Regions from separate parts of the Homo sapiens genome. Here region 1 is linked to region 2. The links are contacts of gene promoters, found by promoter capture Hi-C in blood cells and fetal thymus (Javierre and others, 2016). All regions are on one chromosome and are shown on one strand. The core of a region is centred on a gene start or on the middle of the fragment in contact, and the rest is flanking DNA. Distances in the headings are between cores, read along the strand shown.

Evidence for each region. The method cuts DNA at HindIII sites, captures the fragments that hold promoters and counts their contacts. A CHiCAGO score of 5 or more calls a contact.
Region 1: a fragment that was not itself captured here is called in contact with the fragment with the promoter of ING4 in region 2 in 8 of 17 cell types (non-activated CD4 T cells, naive B cells, naive CD4 T cells and 5 more); the score reaches 11.3 in non-activated CD4 T cells.

The regions. Positions count from the first base shown.
Region 1 is chr12:6,927,059-6,931,400 of GRCh38, forward strand. ATN1 (atrophin 1) reads left to right here and starts at 901. Exons shown (of 10, transcript NM_001940.4): 1 at 901-1,326. LOC124902868 (a long non-coding RNA gene) reads right to left here and starts at 638. Exons shown (of 2, transcript XR_007063194.1): 1 at 469-638. RefSeq lists silencers at 510-559, 740-899. The HindIII fragment of the contact is 3,716 bases long and covers 279-3,994 here.
Region 2 is chr12:6,660,376-6,665,394 of GRCh38, forward strand. ING4 (inhibitor of growth family member 4) reads right to left here and starts at 2,744. Exons shown (of 8, transcript NM_016162.4): 1 at 2,690-2,744. The coding sequence starts at 2,726. RefSeq lists an enhancer at 2,715-2,774. The HindIII fragment of the contact is 5,227 bases long and covers 1,858-5,019 here.

The DNA of each region.
Region 1 (4,342 bases), core at 887-3,386, 270 kb after region 2:
CACGCGTTCCCTCCTCTCTCTCCTCACTGACGTTTCCTCTGGACTTCTCTCTCTCCAGCATTCCTTCATCCCCCCACCCCCAATTCTTATATTTATGACTCTTTTGTCAACACTAATCACCCCCAAAAGCTTTACTTTTTCCAGAAGCCCCATCTTTCTATATATGTCATCTTTTCAATTTTTCTCTCTCCTTATGACCCCAAACTTCCATCCCATTCTCTCTGATAATAGCCCCCAAACCCGTCTGGCTCCATCTCTGCCACAGATCCCTCACCCCAAGCTTCTCTCACTTCTCACCAGGCACCCACAAAGCCCCCAGGCAGCTCCATCTTTCCAATCCAATCCCATTATCCCAATCTCTACCCCAGGATCCCCCAAACTCCTCCCACTTCACCTCTGCCACAGACCCGCTCGCCCCCAAACTTCAGCCTCCCCTCATCTGCCCTCACCACCCACAGCCCCTCCTACCTAGCCCTCTCCCGCGCCGGGCCCGCGGGCTCCCCACATTCCGCCACGGCTAGCCCTCCCCGCGCCCCGGCCCCCTCGGCCTCGGCCTCGGCCAACTCGCGCTGCGCCTCCCCCTCTCCGGCTCCCCCTCTCTCCCCCCTCGCGGCTTGCCTCGCGCTCCCTCCCTCGCGTCTCCCTCCTGGCCCCTCTCTCCTCCGTTCCTCCGCGCTCCCTCCTTCTCCCTCTTCCTCCCTTCTCCCATCCCCCTCTCCCAGGCTCCCTCCCTTCGCCGTCCGCTTTCCTGTGCGAGTCGCCGGACGCACCGCCCAGCCCGTCCGCAGCCCCGCGCCGGGTCGGGGCCTCGGGCCGGGCCATTTCGGAGGGACCGCGGCTTCGGGGAGGGGCTAGGAGGGGGGAGAGGGAGCCGACTGCCGGGGAAGGGGCGGGGGCCGCGGGCGAGGCGGCCGAGGGGCCCGGGATCGCGCGGGTGCGGGCTGCGCTAGGCGGGCGCGGGCGGCGGCGGGTCGGAACCGCGCCGAGGGCCGGGCGGGCCGCGGGGCCGGGCGGCGCGGCGGGGGCGGGCGGCGCGGCCCGGGGCATTCCGGGCGGCCAGGGGGAGGCGGCGAGCCCGGGGAGGTGGGGAGCAGAGCGGGGATCGGGGTTTGCTCCGGGGGCCGGCGGGCGATTGGGGCCAGGCGGGGAAAAGGGGGGATGGGGGCCGCCCTCCGGGGGGGTCGGGGCCGCCGCCGCCGTCGTCGCGGCGGCGACTGAGGCCGAGAAGAGGAGAGGGGGGCGGGGGAGCTGCCGCCGCCGCCCCCCAGAGGCGCCGGAGCCCGGAATCCCGCTCGGAGCCAGCCAGCCGTCCCGAGCTACCAGCAGGTAAGGTCTGCGGCCGCCTGGGCCCCGGGCCCGCGGGGTTCTGTCCCGCCCGGGCTCCGGCCTGCGGCTCCCCACCCCCACCCCTCCCAGTTCCCCCTCCTGCCGCCGCCGCCTCCATTTGTTATTTTCCCAATCCCGTCCCCCCACTGCGGGCTCTGCCTGGCCTGAGGGCCGGGGGCTCAGGGGGTGGGGCCCGCCGAGGAGAGTCGGGGGCCAGGGTTTCGGGAGGATCGGGAAGGTGGGGAAGGAGGGAGGGTCTCCGGAGGAGGCCTGTGGGGCCAGAGGGTATCCGGGACCCGCAGACTCAAAAGAGGAGGAACATCGAGGCCGGGGTTGGCGGAGGAAAACGGGGGATGCTGTGAGTGGGGTTCCGGGCGAAGGCAGAATGGATAGGAGAGATGGCAGCGAGGTGGGGCATGAAGCCTCCAGGAAAAAGCTCCAAAGGACCAGAACACGGGTTCCGGAGCCTGGGGTTGGGGGCTTTAGGAATAGACGGGAAGTGGGAAACGGGAAAGGGGTGTGGTAGGTGGAAAGAGGGATTGTGGCTGATGAACCTGGGGGAGACGGAGGCTTGGGCAAAGAGAGGTCCATTTTTGAGAAGAGCCGGAGGTTTTCCAGCGTGGAAGAGGGAAGGCCATGTCTTTGTGACGGTTTTCATTCCCCTACTGCAGGTCACCTCTGACCCTGTTTTCCCTATCCCAGACATAGTTATTTCTTGGAGAGGGCACTGGGGCCCAGTAGTGTGGGTTATCCCAAAACTAGTGAGGAGGAAAACAGGAACACAGAAGGGGGAGTTGGGAAGAAAGGGGTTCTGGGAGGATGGAAATGGAGAATTGAGCAACCTTACAGGCACTCCAGGCAAGTTGCGACCTCCACCCTCCACCCTCCAATTTCCGGAGCGTCCGCTGCCCCTGGAGCTGTGATCTATATAGGGAGGCCTTAGTTACTGCTTTGAGCTCAAAGATCTCCCTTTGTGCATGGGCTTATTTTGACTAGGGTAGGTACCTTCAAGCTCCCTTACCTGAGGTGCTATAGGAGGGTAGGAGTTGCTTTGGCAACTGGGGTAGGGGGTAGCTGCCAGATGGACACCTGGGATGGTCTCTTGAGGGGCACCTTTTGCCACTGTGTTGCTATGGTAGTGATCCAGTGGGATGTCAGATTGGTTGGGGGGGCTTCGAATGTTTATTGGACCTCAGCCTGTGGCTGTCCTTGGGACTCTGGGCTGGGTTTTGGAGGTTGTTTCTGGATCTGTTGGTGGTTGGGAGTTTCCCCACGGTGTGCACCCTTTCATGTTGAAGTCTGTTGGAACAGGTAGATACGTTCCTTGCAGATCATAGGTGTTTCTCCAAGTCTCTCCACCTGGGCATGATGGGAGGATGAAAACGCTTCTGTTCAGGTTACACCATCTTTTGGCAGTTGGTTCTGACCTCTACCTCCCTTATTATGTTATTTTTTGTAGAGTTGTCTTTTTGCTTCTTTGCACTTTCTTTCATTTTCTAAAACTTGAATTCCTCTTTGAGCCTCCCTTCTTGAGTAACCCTTTTCCTCTTTCCCTCAACTAACCTTTGGCCTTCTTCCCTGACCTTGTAGAAATGGCTGGGCTCCCAGGCCCATCCCAGGTGAGGGTGGCCCAGGACAGAGGGCTGTGAAACAGCTTCATGCAGGGGAAATACTATAGAACAGGAGCCAGGAGACCTGTGTCTAGACCTGGCTGTGCCTCTGTGACCTTGGGCAAGTCACTTCTCTTTGAGCCTGGGCTTCATTGTTAAGATGAAGGGGCTATAGATGAGATGATCTCTGAGGCCTCTCTGAAGGTCCCGGATTCTCAGAAGGCTTAGGCCAGTGCATCGTTATCTGCTGGTCTGGGCTGCATTGTTATCTAGGAGTCACTTTGGACTGGTTTGTTAGTCTGGCAGGTCCAGAATGATGTTGGGGGCTGGGCCAATGATCCTGAAATTTAGCCTGCGAGCCCCTCCCAGAGAGCTTGTGACTCCACTGTATTCCTTCTGACATCCCATATTTCTCTCTTAATTTCTTTTCCTGTTCTTACTTAGGGGCTCTTTTTCTAGTTCTCACTTTCCTCCCAACCCAGTCTGGTCTTAATCATTTTCTTTTTAAAGTAAGGTAATGGCAGTGCGCAGTGGCTCACGCCTGTAATCCCAGCACTTTGGGAGGCTGAGGCGGGCGGATCACGAGGTCAGGCGATTGAGACCATCCTGGCTAACACGGTGAAACCCCGTCTCTAGTAAAAATACAAAAAAATTAGCCGGGCGTGGTGGCGGGCGCCTGTAGTCCCAGCTACTCAGGAGGCTGAGGCAGGAGAATGGCGTGAACCCGGGAGGTGGAGCTTGCAGTGAGCCGAGCCGAGATCGCGGCACGGCACTCCAGCCTGGGTGACAGAGTGAGACTCCGTCTCAATAAATAAATAAATAAATAAATAAATAAAATAAAGCAAGGTAATGAAGGTGAATGTGCTTAGTATGTGGCCAGATACAGAGTAGGTGCTCTGTAATATTAGTTACAGTGATTGCCTGCTAGGAGTGTAGGCTGGTGCTAAAACATGACCCAGGTCTAGAAAGACACACAATCCACCCCTAACTCCTTTCCTCGTCTGCCACTCCTTATCCCCAGGATTACTTGTTCTTTTATGACTGCTTTTCTCCTTCAAAGCTTCTCATTGCTAGTTTTTATCAGATTTCAGGTGATTAAAAAAGAAGGGCATACTATGATTGCTGTGTTCCTCAGGTACATTCCTGTGTTTCTCTGACCTTTTGGATCCCCTAACCTAACTGACTTGGTGAACAGGTTCTGTGATGGGGAAGGGAGATGGACACCCTTCTCTAGGAGGGCTGGCAAAAATACACCAATCACAAATAGTCATCTTTGTTGTGCTTTTTGTTTAAGATTGTTTTCCTCTTTTGCTATGGTGGGTGTTGTTCTTCGGATTTTTTTTTTTTTTTGGTTGATAGTATTTTAAAACCAGTCTACATAACAACTAAAAAATGTGGGAAAATAG
Region 2 (5,019 bases), core at 1,494-3,993:
AGGTGGGTGGATCACCTGAGGTTGGGAGTTTGAGACCAGCCTGGCCAACACAGTGAAACCTCATCTCTACTAAAAATACAAAAATTAGCTGGGTATGGTGGCGGGCACTGTAATCCTAGCTACTCAAGAGGCTGAGGCAGGAGAATCACTTGAACCCGGGAGGCAGAGGTTGCAGTGGGCCAAGATCGCACCATTGCGCTCCAGCCTGGGTGACAGAGTGAGACTCTGTCTCAAAAACAAACAAACAAACAGAAAAACTAAAATAAAATAAATAAAAAAAAATAAAATGCCTCTACTGTTTAAACCTACAACTTCAGGTCTGCTACCACCAGTTCACAAGACTGAGTCACTGGTGATTTACCAAATCTAATGGTGTTATTAAGCCTATCCTAAAAAATATCTCTGCAGCAGTTGGCATGATCTTTTCTCCGCTGAGTAACTTTCTTTTCTTTTCTTTTGAGGTGTAGTGTCGCTCTTGTCGCCCAGGCTGGAGTGCAATGGCGCAATCTCAGGTTCAAGGAATTCTTGTGCCTCAGCCTCCCAAGTAGCTGGGATTACAGGCGTCTGCCACCACGCCCAGCTAATTTTTGTATTTTTAGTAGAGACGGGGTTTCACTATGTTAGCCAGGCTGGTCTTGGAACTCCTGACCTAAGGCGATCCACCCATCTCAGCCTCCCAATGTGCTAGGATTATAGGCGTGAGCCACCGCTCCCAGCCTTTTTGTTTTTGTTTTTTTTTTGAGGCGGAGTCTCACTCTGTTGCCCAGGCTGGAGTGCAGTGGCATGATCTCGGCCCACTGCAACCTCCACCTCCCAGGTTCAAGCGATTCTCCTGCCTTAGCCTCCTAAGTAGCTGGGACTACAGGGGCACACCACCACACCTGGCTATTTTTTTTATTTTTAGTAGAGACGGGGTTTCACCATGTTAGCCAGGCTGGTCTCGATCTCCTGACCTCATGATCCGCCTGCCTCAGCCTCCCAAAGTGTTGGGATTACAGGCATGAGCCACCGTGCCTGGCCACCAGCCTTTGTTTTTTTTTTTTTTTTTTTTTTTGAGAGGGACACGGAGTCTTTCTCTGTCACCCAGGCTGGAGTGCAGTGGTATGTATGATCTTAGCTCACTGCAATCTTCACCTGCTGGGTTCAAGTGATTCTCCTGACTCAGCCTCCCAAGTAGCTGGGATTACAGTCACATGCCACCATGCCCAGCTAATTTTTTTTTTTTTTTAAAGTAGAGACTGGGCTTCACCATGTTGGACAGGGTGATCTCAAACTCCTGACCTCAAGTGATCTGCCCGCCTTGGCCTCCCAAAGTGCTGAGATTACAGGCATGAGCTACTGTGCCCAGCCTGTCTACCTCACTTTCTAAGCAGGAAGAAGCCACCTTAGATTCTTCCTTCTCTCTCAACCACTCAGTCATTCAGTCAGTCCTTTCATATTTAACTCCTAAATACTTCTGTAACTCCCTAAAATCAGGTTCTTATCTCTGTCCTGGAATGTTATCACTAATTGATCTCTGTTATCAACAATATCATGCTCCAATTTACCATATATTAGTCATTTTCCTCTATAAAAATCATACTCTACTTTAAAATGCAAACTTCTTCGTTTGGCTTAAAAGACCTTGTCCAATCTAGCCTCAGCCTCTTTCTCCAGTCTCCTTTCTCAATTTCTTACCTTAGATTCATAAATATCAAATACGCTGACCTCTGAGTCATAAATATCAAACACCCTTGACCTTGCCACAAACCCATCACAGTACCTTTGCGGATGCTTTCCCCAACCTGGAATTCCTTTTTTCTCTCCTCACTGGCAAATAACCTTCAAGACCCTATTCAAACATCACCTCCGCTGTAAAGCTTTTCCTACATCCCCAGGTAATTACCCCCCTTTTCTCCAGGGTTGCCTACCAAGTGTCCTTTTTAATGTATTTCCATTATCTCACTTGTCACAGTGTTTTATAATTATTTGCAGAATCTGTTTCCTACTAGATCGTGAGCTTCTTGAGGGCAGGAGCCTTGTCTTACTCATTTTTCTATCCCTAGTGCCTGCCATTATGTCTGACCCATAGCAGGACCTCAATAAATATTTGTTGAATAAATGACTCCGGGCCCTAAAACAAATGTAAGCGCACAGAGCAATAGGCTTTCTGCAGGGGTGGTTTACATAAATCGCATAAACACCAGATTTTCATTTGATGGGAATTAGATCTTTACTCCATGAAGAGAAGCGTTCTAGTTCATCATCTGACAGTGGTCACTCATCACCACCACTCTCAACCCCATGAGAAGCCACTTTTGAGGAAGAATGGAGTGGAGGAGAGGTCTTTACCGCTTCTCCAAATGGCAGTGTGTGATAACGATTCTGAACGACTATGGGGAAAAAAATCTACCGAGGCTGGAGACCCTGGAGAATGGGGGCAGCAACTATCTTCCTGGCCATGCACACTAGCCCTTCAAGACACGTCTCTAACCCCCACACCGCACCCCTCCCTCGTCTACACCCATCAGCGGGGCCTCGATCCTGCTGCCCCGCCCCCTCTTTCTCCGCACCCTCCAATATTTCCTGCCACAGAACCGCTTCATAATTGTGACCTTCTCGTCACTGGAACTTAAGGGCTACAGATCCTCTCATCCCTGATCCCCGCACCACTCTGCAGCCCCGACCCCCACCTCCAGCCTGCTCTTACTGTCCAGATAATGTTCCAAATACATCCCCGCAGCCATCTCGAAGCAAAACAAAGCAACTTCCGATCCGCCCCGGAAGTGACTGTAACGCGACAGGGGCCGAAGCCATTTTGCGGCTAAAGCCTTTCCGCCCTTAAAAGGAGAACTTCCGCCCTTAAAAGGAGAACTTCCGCCCTTAAAGGAGAACTTCCGCCCTTACTATATTACCGCCGGTACACATCCGCCCGACACTGAAACTTTTCCTTTTGCATGGTAGCCACGACCGCCCACAGTGAGGCGGCTGTAGCCCGCTTCCGCCCTTACAGACACCCCAGGACGCGACCGAGACAGGTATGACGTCACTGGAGGTCGCCATTTTGCATTCTCTAGCAAACTTTTTTCCCTCCAAAACGGGAATGTATGGTAATCCGTGCAGGGGTAACTGTTCACTTTAGGCTCATATTGCGTAAACATACCTTCTCAGCAACTGGAAGATCCAACTTTTTTTCCCTCTTTTGCAGAATGACTTTTTTCAAGCCAGTTAGTTTCTTAAGGAAGTTGGGGAAGAGTATCAGGCCTTGAGACATTTAAACCGTCTGAATTTCTATTCACTCACACAAACACCATCTCCCCCAGCATTATTTTTTTAACTTGAGAAAGATGATCACCTTTCTACTTATAAATACAAAGAATGACTCATAATAAAGCTATAATTCTGCACATCTTTTGTCAGAGCTCCTGTACGTTACACTAGAATACACTTTCACATATAAAATATTACTTCCTGCCTTGCCCTCTTGCTTTTTTTTTTTTTTTTTTGAGACAGAATTTTCACTCTTATTGCCCAGGCTGGAGTGCAATGGCGTGATCATGGCTCACCGCAACCTCCACCTCCCGGGTTCAAGTGATTCTTCTGTCTCAGCCTCCCGTGTAGCTGGGATTACAGGTATGCACCATCACGCCAGACTAATTTTGTATTTTTAGTAGAGATGGGGTTTCTCCATGTCGGTGAGGCTGGTCTCGAACTTCCGACCTCAGGTGATCTGCCCACCTCAGCCTCTCAAAGTGCTGGGATTACAGGTGCGAACCACTGTGCCTGGCCCCTCTTGCTACTCTCTAAGGGGGAAATCTCGTGTTTTTGTTTTCCTTTTGTTTATATGTGATGTTAGCATCATAATTCTGAAGGGATTGAGGGATGCAGCAGTATCACTACTGGGCTAGTTGGCTAGTTAGTTGCTAGCCATCACTCTAGTCAGCTATGGTAGAGTGATTTCTATGGTTTTCATCAGAATGGGAAGCAGTCAAGGGTATGAGAGGCTGCCAACACACTAGGCTGTCAACACACTGCCAACACAAAGGCCATAACCTAATAGTGGTGTTAGTAAGATAGTATTTTAGAGATAGCTGCCACCCCTCACACTTTTCGTACCCTCACACATCCTTCATAAGAATTACCAATGTCTTACGGCAAGTTTTTAAAGAGACAGACTTTCAGCTATATAATTTCTACCAAATATGTGGAGAAGAGGAACTTCCAACCCGGGGCGGATTGGAAGTTGCTTTGTTTTGCTTCGAGATGGATGCAGGGATGTATTTGAAACATTATCTGGACAGTAAGAGCAGGCTGGAGGAGGGGGTTCAGGGGCTGTAGAGTGGTGGGGGTATCAGAGCTGAAAGGATCTGTAGCCTGTAAACCCCAGGTTTACTAGTGTGCAGGTAGTAAGATACAGCAATAGAATCCGGGAAACTGCTCTAATTACAAAAGTCATGCTTTTCGGTAACTTGATCTCTGTGCCTGTTTTACTATACAATGAGACTACTACCTCCCTCATAGGGTTGTTGGAATAAGTGAGTGTGAGTGTATCCATAAAAAGAGTAGATTCTAGTTCTAATACTGGTGATGAAGTTAGGGCCATTAGGGCCTTTTCAAGAGTTGGTGAGAGTGGGAGGAAAAAGCAGTAAATATGCAGGGAGCTAAGAAACATTGGCATATTTGGTCATATGTGATACATTCATTGGTATTACACAACATATTGAGACACCATCTTAGGTGCCCACACAGGATATCTAGCACTAAATTAAGTGGGCTTTATTTATCCCAGCCCAACTACATAACAAGTACTATTGGCCAGCAGTCCCAGAGTTCTCAGGATGTGGGAGCTTGGTCACAACTTTCACAACTTTTTCGGTGCTTAAAGCAAGGTTTTTTTTTTTTTGTTTTTTTTTTTTTTTCCAGACAGAATCTCGCTCTGTGGCCCAGGCTGGAGTGCAGTGGTGCAATCCCGGCTCACTGCAACCTCCGCCTCCCAGGTTCAAGTCATTCTTCTGCCTCAGCCTGCAGCTGGGACTACAG